3 separate regions of the Homo sapiens genome follow, and regions 1 and 2 are each linked to region 3. Evidence: promoter capture Hi-C in 16 types of primary human blood cells and fetal thymus (Javierre and others, 2016). All regions are on one chromosome and are shown on one strand. The core of a region is centred on a gene start or on the middle of the fragment in contact, and the rest is flanking DNA. Distances in the headings are between cores, read along the strand shown. Region 1 overlaps CCSER1 (coiled-coil serine rich protein 1). Region 2 overlaps CCSER1 (coiled-coil serine rich protein 1). Region 3 holds the start of GRID2 (glutamate ionotropic receptor delta type subunit 2).

Region 1 (3,766 bases), core at 1,128-3,627, 830 kb after region 3:
ACAAAGGAATGACAATTGTCCTGGACAACAAAATTCTCATCAGCAGCAATGTGTAACAGTAGAGACTCTATGATTCATAGTTTCTTATATGAGACTGTCTCACCTTCCTTCCAACATCAACTTCCACCAAAAAAAGTGACCCTAACCCACCTTTATTACCCAATGCTCAAAATTAGCTACATGTTATACAAAATTTATAAATAAATAAACATGCAATGATAAATACACAAGGATAAAACTGAAGGTGCAGTTTTACACTGAGTCATGTTATTACATTCTACTTTTTATCCCTCAAATTTGGAAGGCAATGTGTGTGTGTGTGTGTGTGTGTGTGTATATATATATATATATATATATATACACAAATATATATATATATACACACACATGTGTGTGTGTGTGTGCATGTATGTATACATGTGTGCCTAAATTTAGCCACAAGAAGACTGAGAGAAGAAAAGGATGCTGTGAAGAAACTCCCCAAAATGGAGAGTGGGTTCATAGATTGCAACATATCCCATCATGAGGCAGCCTGATGTGGTAAAATGTAAATGAGAACTACTATCAAATCTTGGTTTGCGACTTGTATTCCTCATTGGCATTAGTCTTCCATTTAAAAAATTGATGTAATCATTATCCCAAAGAATTTTGTTTTAAGAATAGAATAGAATGATTTGAATTAAAAAGATTTATCAACTGTAAAATTCTATATCCATATCAGAATAAGATATTATACATATTTATTAAATGTGTGATTATATATGTAATTATATAATTGTAACACAATATAAGAAATAAAAATTTATTATCCATTATTAATTCATTTTTATTTCCTAGTCTGGATGTTTAAATTATTTTAAACTGTTATACAAAGATTTTTATCCATTTTGTGGTGTTATATAGGGAATAATGAAAACACTTATGTTACATACAAAGGTTTTGTTTTTCTTACTGTGAATTGAATCTTAATCCCACCCAGTGTTTAACTTCTGATCCCAGTTTTACTGTGTAAAAATCACCAAAATTTTGATGAGGCTAGTCAAGGAAATTAGATAGAACATGCAAAATACAGCAATAGAGCATTTGTTACTCATGACTCTGAAAATCTAGAACATCGAAGAAACTTAAAGAATACACAACACTACTTTTAACATTAATATATGAATTATATTCTCGAAAAATGATTCGGGAAGTTAATTTGAGGGAATAATACTTGTTTTTCAGAATAGTCTCTTTGAGGTTAACAAAGAAACAGACACTACAGAGTTGATTAAAATATACTTAGAAGATGTGGCCAAGCCTGGATGCCTAGTCAGCTATCTCAGCATAAGATCCACATATGAAATAAAACCAGGCAAATGAGATAACAGGCCCATAGTTTCTGAGTCTCATGCTAATAGTAAAAATAATAGCCATGATTTTCTGAGTGCTGACAGTATGCCAGGTGTGGGCTAGGCTCTTCAACACTCTTTTAATTTTTCCTCACAACAAACCTAAGAAGTATATATCATCATCTTAATTTTATAAATAAGAAAACTGAAATCAAAATATTAACTAAATTGTCTGAGATAAAAGAGCTAGCTAGGGTTGTGATTTTAATCTAAGTCTGTTGAATCCAAAAACCCTGTTCTTCCAGGGTCCTTCTAAAACATGGTCCTTCTAAAACACCCCTGTGACTAAGAAATCCCAGACCAAATGAGGTACGAACCCACAATCTCTGACTAACGAGACCAGTACTTGATCTCTGTTCTTTTGTGATTTCTACTGTGGATGACTTAAAAGGGAATACTTTATGAGAAATGATGTCAACTGTGCAAAGAGCTGCTTCATGGCATCACCAGGTTTTATGTTCCTTTGTATGCCCTACTCAGAAGCTTCCACAATGAAAATTACTTTCTGAAAGCATATGGACTTTTATGTTATCTTTTTCCACTAGTTAAAAATGTTTATGATGAACAGTAACTTTCCTTACATTCCAAGTTTGCTCATCTCAAGGAGAAGCTCTGCAGACTTTGTCTGGAGTTGGCTGAGCAAAGGATTATGTTCCCCCTAATACCATGTAATACTGGGCATTGGCGGAACACACAGAATATGAAATATCATTTGGAATTTGGAGTTGGTAGTAACCACAACTTAACCAGGGATAACACAGATCACAGACTGTCATAGGAAAAACGAGAATATCAGGAAAGGCATTCATCAGTAATCTACCTATCTGCTCCTTTGACAGTTCTTGCTGACCATTATGTGATATAAACTGTTATGATGATGGATAAAGAGGACAGAACAGTGTCCAGAGGAAATAATTTGCAGCTAAAGTATCCATCTAATGATTTTTTATGAGAGTCTCCTGACACACTATTGTTAAGGCTTGTCATAAGGTATGACCTGTGATACTGCTAACATCTCCTAAGATTCTGTCTCTATATTATTCAAGGGTCCCAAAGAGCTGCAAAAGAGCCAGTCGAAGAGATTGTGCCTATGAAACTGTCTTGGTACTAGTAACAAATATTACAATCTCAAGATATCAGTGGTTATTATAGAGAAAGATTTTCACCCAGACACAGAATGTGTCATTTACTAACTATGAGCAAAATAAAACAATTCAGATTTTATTTTACATCTACAAGTAGCTTTTGGAAAGATAATATCATGTGGTATGAAAATGCTTGCATACTTCTCAGTCCAAAAAGAAAGGATTGGGGTTTACTATTGATTGATACGATGGGAAAAAAACGTAAAATCTTTACCAAGTAACACTACAGACTCAAGTAAGAACATTTGAGACTCTTGAGTTCCTTTTATTCATGTTAATATGAATTCCAGCCAAGACATTTTAGTGACAATTTTAATTGTTTTACAACTGTCTTGGAAGCTTGTCATATTGCAGCACTTAGAGATGCTATCATAACAGCCTGTCTCAAGAAAACTTCAGCGAAGCCCTAAAATGAAAGCTCACCAGTTGGCAAAGTCACAAATTGATAAAGTACAAGTGAATCGGAAATTCACTAGGTAAATAAAAGCTCTAAGTCATTTAAAAAAACAATGAAAAACAGGTCACCTCTTTTCATGTGTGCCAAGTGAATTCTAAAATGAGACCTAATGATTTTTTTTACTAATAACTTAGTTAAATAAAATCTTTAGTTTTTTTCTTTTTTTTCTTTTTTTTTTTTTTTTTGAGATGGAGTGTCGCTCTGTCGCCCAGACTGGAGTGCAGTGGCACGATCTCAGCTCACTGCAAGCTCTGCCTCCCGGGTTCACGCCATTCTCCTGCCTCAGTCTCATGAGTAGCTAGGACTACAGGCGCCCGCCACTATGCCCGGCTACTTTTTTTGTATTTTTAGTAGAGACAAGGTTTCACTGTATTAGCCAGGATGGTCTTGATCTCCTTCTTTAGATGTTTTTACAGCAACATGGCAAAAATTTATCCTTATGCAACACACACAAAAAATTATAACATCCTACAGGCAAAGGCTTAATGCTGTAGGTACCTCTGAAATCCTCCTCAGTCAGTCTGAAGGGAAAAGAATATCACCACCAAGTGCTGTCAGATCTAGTGAGAGAGCTGTTTACTACATGCAGCAAAACAAGCAGACCGTGTCTCAGGGGAGTGCGTCGTCACGGCTTTGTTAATAGCCTATCCATATTACCTCATGACAACCGTGAGAGTAGCACATCCAGATCCATCCAGCGCGGCTGGGTCACGGTGAACCTGAATGATCTCATCTCCTAGGTGTAGGTCTGACTGTTTCAGCCATCTGTGCAC
Region 2 (4,167 bases), core at 419-2,918, 850 kb after region 3:
TAGATAGACTCTTGAATAAACTGTTACAGTGCCAACTTAGTAATTTACAATTAATAGCTTCCTTTTAAAAAATTAAATAAGATCCTGAGTTAACAAGCTGTTTCAGACATTATAATAGGCTGAATAAAATGTCCCCTCAAAATATCCAGAACTTAATCCCTAACACCTGTAAATGTTAACTTTTTGGCAAAAGGAAGTTTGCCAAAAAGATTAGATTAAGTTAAAGATCCAGAGATGGGGAGATTATCCTGGATTATCCAGGTGGGTCCTAAATGTAATCTGTGTGTGTCCTTATAAGTAGAAGGTGGAGGGAAATTTGACCGCAGAGGCAGAAAACAATGTGACTACTAAATAAAAATGAGATACTGCTGGCTTTAAAGATGGGGGAAGGGGTCACGAGCACAAAATGCAAAGAATGCAGATCTAGGAGCTGGAGAAGCCAAGGGAACTGATTCTCTCCTCAGAGCCTTTGTAGGGCGACCAGCCCTGCAGTCATACTGATTTTTCCCCAATGAAACTGATTTCAGACTTCTGATTTCCAGAACTGTAAGAGAATAAACGTGTATTGTTTTAAGCCAGAAAGTGTGTGACAATGTTTTACAACAGCCATAGAAAACCAATGCAAACACTATTAAAAATAGTTCCATGTTCTTGATTACCTCTGAACGTTAAACCATGTATATGAAAGTTCTGGAGCTCATAGATGTCAGGTTAAGAAACACTTAATATAGAATGCTGTTCTAGTGATATTTATTCCTGTTGACATCTGTGAGACACTGTAAACATACCTCATTACAATACTAGACACAAAGAATGTGCTCATTAATTATTTGATTATTTTCTTCCATTCACACATCCACTTGTGTATCCAGGAGTTATTCCTTTCATAAATGGCCTATCACCAGATGAAAATATGTGATATAATGATAAAGCCACATATATTTTCCTTTATATAATTTCTTCTGTTTCTTCCAAGCCTAGTATAGACTCACCTCACTATGCTAGAAAATCAGCTATAGATTCAGCTAAGATATAGAACACCTGCCAGATATGCTTGGGTTCTTCGGAGGATATTGCTGAGCAGGTAGGCAAAGGTGAAGTAGTGACTGCAATTTATCGGGAATAGATAGAAAACTCAGTACACATCATTGATTTTACATGCTCCAAAGGCTTAGGTTTAAAAGTCAGTATGCCTGGCAAGGAAGAGGTGGCAAGACATTTAAATGGATGTAAAATTTTCTTTAGGAGAAAAGTGCTCTGGAAAAAGTAAACATTTGTAACAGAGAAATAAAAAGGGGCCACTCAATTTCACAGGAAGCAGTCTTGAGAGACCCTCTGTGGCCTGAGATACAAATGACCTGGCTGACGGGAGAATTCAAAATACAATGGGGCAAAACAAATCACCTATAAAATGAACATGGTGACTTTCTCAAGCAGACAGTGTTATAAGTTTGATTGACTTGTTTCTGCCTTTCCTAATTTGCAGAACACTAATTTCACCAAGAAAAGACATAAAACTCCAAATGCTAGAAAGTATAAGGATAGTTATTTACAAAATTTACAGAATCACCATGAACTACTACCAAACAAAACTCTAAATGACCAAATGATAATGTATAAATCATAACCTATAGTGGGCTCAAATCCCTTACTTTGCTAGTTAAATAAATTAGACAATTTGAAACCCAGTGAAGTGACAGGTAATAAAATGAGGTAACTTCATTTAAAAGAGAGTAATACAAATATTTCTCAAAATATAGAGTATACTTGATATGCGAAGTCTTGAGGATTATTTGAACAATGAAATCTTTACTGCCATTCGGCAACAGTTACCAAGGTTTAGTGATCTTATTTTCCATAACTAAGGACAATGTAAGGCAGAGATTTCATTTGCAGGAAAATGAGCTAGAAAAAAATCTTATTAGGAATGCTCTTCAGCTTCAACTGCAACCAAAGAGCTCAACAGTGCTTGTCAAGAACAAAGTGAGGTCTCCAGTCTTTATTAGCTTTACAGGTCAAACATTGAACTTGCTGTGACTAAGAAATTAAGGAATTCATTCAGTTGTTTTAAGATGTATGAATTTCATTTTCCATCTTTAGCTTCTATAGTATCTCAGCACATTTGGAAGACAATGTGCAGTTATTTACCCTTTTCTGTTATCACTTTGGCTGTATCATTTCTGGAAATGTTCTCAAAGGAGTGACAAAGACATACATTTAGATTTGCTTGACATATGTGCTTTGCCAGTCAACACCAATATGAGTGTTTTTTAGTATTTCTGGTACTCTACAAATGACAAGTAGTGTACCCAATACAAATTAGCCTTATTAAGACAAAACCACATAAAAGGCAATGCTTACCTGCCATTGCCTCTGACTCTTACAGTCACGTGGAGTCCATGGAGTTCAGAAAATTTTGTAAAATGTTTTCAAAAGGCTTGAGTTACAAGTTCAAATTATTTCACAGGCTAGGTTCATGGGATCTGTGACAAGATGATGATATGCTCTACTTGAAGACATTTAAATTTAACTTTAATTGTACTGGCAAAAGAGAGGATGTCTGTGTGTCAATTTTGCCCTATGACTATGGATTATCATTTCTGAGACTCCTGCCATAGAAGTTACTTTCCAGGATTTGTTGAAAACATCTAAGCCTACACTTCATAATGAGATGTAAATACTTACTATCCAGACATCATAGTGTATATAGAGCATGTTCTGATGCAAACCCTTAAAAATGAAATAGAGATAAGTCTTCAGGAACACAACTAAGATATTGTTGGCCCAGTCCAGAGTACCTTTTTGGATCACATTGGACCAGCTCAACCCAGGCTAATCAGAAATGTTTACTTCTCGATAATGGTAATGCTTATTACTAATACTTAATATGAAACTGGGACTTTGCATTTTTACTTAAATTACTTACTACTAAAGTTTTATTTTTAAATTCTATAATATTTTATTCTACAGTGTCTAATCTGCTATTAATTCCACCCAAGTATTTTTTTATCTCAAACATTGTATTTTTCAGCTTTAGAAATTAAATTTGGGTGCATATTGTATGTTACATGCAGAATTTTTCAACATGCTCATGATTTCCTCCTTCTTTTTGGTTATTTGGAGAATACAGTGGCTCTTTTAATGCTCTTGTTTGCTTATTCTATTATTTGTCATTTCTGGATGTTTCTATTGATTGGTTATTCTCCTTATTATTATTCCTGGTCTTCTACTTCTTTGAATGTTCAACAATTTTTTATTGAAGTGTGTCTGGGTGCTGGACTTTTTTCTTTAAGAGAGTAATCCTTTAAATATTTTTCAAATTTACTTTAGTTTGCAACTAAGCTAGTTGGAAATAGTATGATGCTTTTAAAATGAGCTTTTAAAATTCATTAGGCCCATAGCAGCCTTTACTTCTAGGACTAATTTGGTCCCATGCCACAGTCTTAATGTTTGAAGCCCTTAAATTTTCATATGTTGAAATTATAACCCCCAAGGTAATGGTATCAGGAGGTGGGATGTTTTGGAAGCTGATTAATTAGGTCATGAGCATAAGGCCTCATGAATGGGATTTTTGATTTTATAAAGTAAGCCCAAACAAGCTGGGGTTCCCCTTTTCTTCTATGTGAGGATACAGCTAGAAGGTACCATCTTTGAACTAGAAAACTCACATTCACCGGACACTGAATCTGCCAGTGCTTTGATTTTGGCTTCCCAGCCTCCAGAAATGTGAGAAACAAATTCTGTTGTTCATAGGTCACTCAGTCTATTGTATTTCTTATAGTATCCCTAACAGACTAAGAAATGACCCTTTTGCCTGATGTTTCATGTATTACAACTTTTTTCCCATCCTGGCTTTTTGGATTGTGAATTACTCCTAGCCCTGTCTGAGCTCTGATAATTGTGTCACCCATTTCTTTCCCATGACATTTTTTTAGCATTGAGTAGTTTCTCACAGAAATGCTGATTAGTACCGAACTGAAGACCGGAGTGAAGTCCTCAGCAGACCTCTGAGCTCTCTTGTGCAATTCTCTCATCTCACTTGCACTGCCTCATCAATTACAGCCACCTTAACTAACTCCCCAAATACTCTGTCTCCTCAATGAAGGAGATAACTGAGCTCTGTTTAGGTTCCTTCTCTCTGAACTTCAGCCTGGAAACTCTGCAGAC
Region 3 (3,871 bases), core at 800-3,299:
CGGTGGAGAAGCAGGGGTACAGAAAGGGGAGAAGCTGTGACCCATCTGTCGCCTCAATTTGCAGAACACCAAGCCATGCGTACAGATAAAAGTCCTGTGCCCAGAAAAATTCCCCCAAAGGGACCTCTCTGCAGCCCAGCAAAGAAACCTTGCTGGCTCGGTAAGCGAATTTCCGAAAAAGAAATCGTCGCATTAACGCAGAAAAGGCTGCAAGAGCCTGTCTCCCGCTCAGCTCTCACGGATTAGCAAGTGAGTAGAGTTGGAGCCTGAAGCTGCGAGCGCTGTGCATGATAATGACGCGCAGCCCCCCGCCCGCCCCTGCTCGCCGCGGCCAGTCCCGGCCCGTCTGGTTGCCAATAGGTGGGGCCACCAGCATCTCGGAGCCCGCTCGGCAGTCCTTCTCAGAGTCGCGGCCCGCAGTAGTCCCGGCGCCTTCGCTGTCTGCCTTGCGCGGCTACTCGGAGTTGACTGCGAGGCGAGGCGAGGCGAGGCAAGGCGGATATCTGCTAAGCAGACCTCGGGAGCAGCCTGCGCGCATTCGCTTCCCCGCGTTTCCCAAGCGCCCCGGGGTCAGTTTCGCCGCCGCGCCAGGCCCCGGGAGCGTGTCCGAGGAGGCGAGGCACGCGACAATCAGTCCTTGGCGACACTGCCGCCAGCCCCTCCTGCCACCGTCTCAAAGACTACACGCAAGGATCATAAAGCCAAGAAGATGTGAGAAGAGAGGGTGGCTGGGGGCGCATCCGGCACCCCCGTCACCATCGCACTAAGCTGCGGCGAACTCAGCCGGCTCACGTTGCAAAACCACCTGTTCGATCCGAAGGGAGCTCCCCCTACCCCCCAGCCCAGTTCTTTTCATCTCACAGGTGACAGCTTCTCTGCTCCCCCAAAGATAAATTTTTAAATGGAGCAAATGTACATCCGGGAAAAAAAATATGGAAGATAAGAGTCAATTAAACTCCCTTTCCCCACACACTTAGAATCCCCCTGCAGTTCCCAGCACACACTCACACTCAGGTCAACTCGAGACCCCCACGCATCCAGCCACATTCCACGAATCACTGCAAAACAACAGCACAAGTCAGTCGAGGTTCGAGCATCCACATCCTTTCAGAAAACTGAGCAAGTGTGAGGGAAGGGTAGCGGGAAGGGGCAATGAACTGAAGCCACCTCCAACAAGACACACAGAGACCGGAGAGGGGGAAAGCGAAGGGGAAACATTTGAGAACTGAAACGGTAAAAGTAACCACGAGCTGCACCAACACTTTCTTACCGATGTGAATGATCGAATCCGCATTCGCCGAGTCCCAGGTTCGAGACCACCAGACGGACAAAACCAAGAGAAAGGGGAAAACTTCCATCTCCTCCTATGCCGATTCTCTTGGAGGATGGATTTTCTTCCAATTTTTTTTTTTTCAAACAGTCCAAAGAGTTTGAGGTCACGGTGGAGTTTAGCGCAGCTTTTTCTTTTTTTCTAAATTCCTATTGCCAGAGCAAAGCCTTTTATCGTCGCCGAGAAAGGCAGAAGGGAATGACAGAAAGAGCCCAGCCTGAGGAAACCTCCTTCGCAAAGCCGTGTCACTTGGAGGGGAATTTTGGCATCGCCAGAGTTGTTTGCAGTTTGGCTTTTGAAAAATATATCCAGCCTCTACTGCTCTTGGGCAGGGGGAGAGGCTGGGGCTCAGATCAGACCCATCGCTGCGCGGGGGCCGCGGGTCTCCGGTCCCAGCTCCGCTGCAACTTCCAACACCCCCCTCACGCCGGATGTGCCCCCTTCCCCGCACCCTCTCGGACCAAAAAAGACCCCCGCCCCCGCCCCTACAGCCCGCAGAGAATCACTGGTCTTCGCTGCCAGAATCTAAGTGGAAAGGAAAGATTAGGAGATTCCAAACGGAGCAGCCAGATTCCACCAGGGAGGGGGGAAAAAAGCCCTCTCCAAGAGGGGTAGAAAAAGTGAACTTCAAGGTAATGCAGATAGTAATGCAGAGAAAATTCCCTTTCTGCGTGAGGCGCGGAACGCAGCTTGGCGAGGCGGGCCCGGGGAGCCGGTTTGCTGGGGCGCGGTGGCGGGGGGGTTGCGCCGGGCGCGAGCAGCGGGGCCGGGCCAGAGGAGGGAAGCCGCCGCAGGCTGCAGGATGCTTTTGGAGCGTTTCGCCTGGCGGGATGCAGGAAGCAAGGAGCGAGCCTGGCAGCTTCAGCACCAGCCCCACGTTGCCTAGAAATGGATCACCTAGGAGAAGGAGCGAGCCTGCGAGAGAGCGGTGCTGTCAGGCGGAGAGAGGGGGAAACCAAGAGAGGAAGAGCTTCTCTCTAATAACCACCTCCTCCCCCTATCTGCAATACAAGGGAGAAACAAAATAGTGCTCTCATTTCCCATGGAATCTTCAACCGGGACTGAGAAAAAGGCAGGACTGTAAAAAGACATTGAAGCTTTTTTTTTCCTTTCTTTATTTTACGAGGTTAAATGCAACCTAAAAAAGCCACCCCACTTATTTAACCTTGCTATTCTCTAACAGGTATCAGACTTTTTCTAGTCTTTGCCTGGAATTAGTCACATTGGTTGAAAACAAATTAGGGACACCTGGTCACTTAGGGAAATACAGACCTAGAAAGCTTTTAATGAGATTTCAATTATAAAGTTATAAAAAGGAGAGAACGTGCTAATTACCTTTTATACAATGATTTTTTTTTTCTGTCTCCAGTGTATTTTTTAGGCAATCAGGATAGAGAAAGGTTCCTGAAATCCTTTCTATTGATAGAAATTCTTCTCTATCAGGATAGAAAAGATCTTGAAATTAAAATAAAAAAGCAGAATAATTAAATAAAACAGAAAAATTTTTCATAAACATTTGGTCAAAATATTTCATTGAGTAGCTTAATAACCTATGTAGATAAATTCCGAATGAGGAAGTTGGGTACTCTCTTCCATGGAAAAAGCTGAGGAAGTCCTGAATGACAGCCTCTCAGTCTCCAGTGAAAGGATTTTCTGCAAGCTTATTCCTTAAGATAAAATCCTGATCATTGTGACTTCTTTTCTTATAATGATTGACTTATGTCAATCTGGCCTCATTGCAAACTGAAGATTTGTTAACACAATCGAGTGACTAGTCGAGGTCAGGTATTAATGTCATAATATTGTCTCAGTTATAATTGGAATTCTTTAGGAATGTTGGATGTGTGGATGTCAAGCTCATTACACAACCTTTCAAAGCCTTACCTCCAAGTTTGGCAAACCTCTTTTCCTCCCGTTCCCTCACTTGAGCCCTTCTCTCTAGCCTTCTGAATTGGGTTACTATTTTTCCAGACACAGTTGTACATTCTCACTTCTGGCTGTTTTCATTCATCTTGTACACTTTTTCCTGAACATTCCAGAAAATGTTTTGCTGCCATATTTTTACTTATGTTAATATTTCTGCTTGGAAAGCACGTATTTGTCCTCCCAACCACTCTCCTTCACCATCTCAAGGGCTAGTTCAAATTCCTTTTGCCCATGAAGTAGTGTCCAGTCCTTTAATGTGGAATAAATCCATCTATCTTCTATGCTGTCGTAACACACCCTATTTTGTATTAGAGTTAGACAGAACTACTACTAAGTTAGATCATAAATGCCTTGAGAGTGAAAACCAAAGCTCATTCACATTTTATTCAACACAGCATTTTACAGAGAACCCCTTTGTTGACTTGAATTTCATCACTTCCTTCTGAATCTGGAACAAACCAGTGCTTCCAAGAAGCATTCACTGATTAATTACTCTCAATTTTGATCATTCTCTTATCTTTTGTTTCCATTAGTAGACATTGACTCAATATTGATTATATTAATGTTGGTGTTAATGTCATTTTACTTTATAAAGTGTTTTGATGCAATTCCATA

Evidence for each region. The method cuts DNA at HindIII sites, captures the fragments that hold promoters and counts their contacts. A CHiCAGO score of 5 or more calls a contact.
Region 1: a fragment that was not itself captured here is called in contact with the fragment with the promoter of GRID2 in region 3 in 1 of 17 cell types (naive CD4 T cells); the score reaches 6.4 in naive CD4 T cells.
Region 2: a fragment that was not itself captured here is called in contact with the fragment with the promoter of GRID2 in region 3 in 1 of 17 cell types (naive CD4 T cells); the score reaches 17.2 in naive CD4 T cells.

The regions. Positions count from the first base shown.
Region 1 is chr4:91,471,382-91,475,147 of GRCh38, reverse strand. The region is part of intron 10 of CCSER1 (coiled-coil serine rich protein 1); the gene reads right to left. Among named protein-coding and RNA genes, the nearest start is that of LNCPRESS2, 800 kb to the left of the region's middle. The HindIII fragment of the contact is 1,001 bases long and covers 1,877-2,877 here.
Region 2 is chr4:91,450,572-91,454,738 of GRCh38, reverse strand. The region is part of intron 10 of CCSER1 (coiled-coil serine rich protein 1); the gene reads right to left. Among named protein-coding and RNA genes, the nearest start is that of LNCPRESS2, 820 kb to the left of the region's middle. The HindIII fragment of the contact is 9,472 bases long and covers 1-4,167 here.
Region 3 is chr4:92,302,144-92,306,014 of GRCh38, reverse strand. It overlaps GRID2 (glutamate ionotropic receptor delta type subunit 2), which reads right to left and starts at 2,049. Exons shown (of 16, transcript NM_001510.4): 1 at 1,271-2,049. The coding sequence starts at 1,358. RefSeq lists a silencer at 223-517. The HindIII fragment of the contact is 7,809 bases long and covers 1-2,429 here.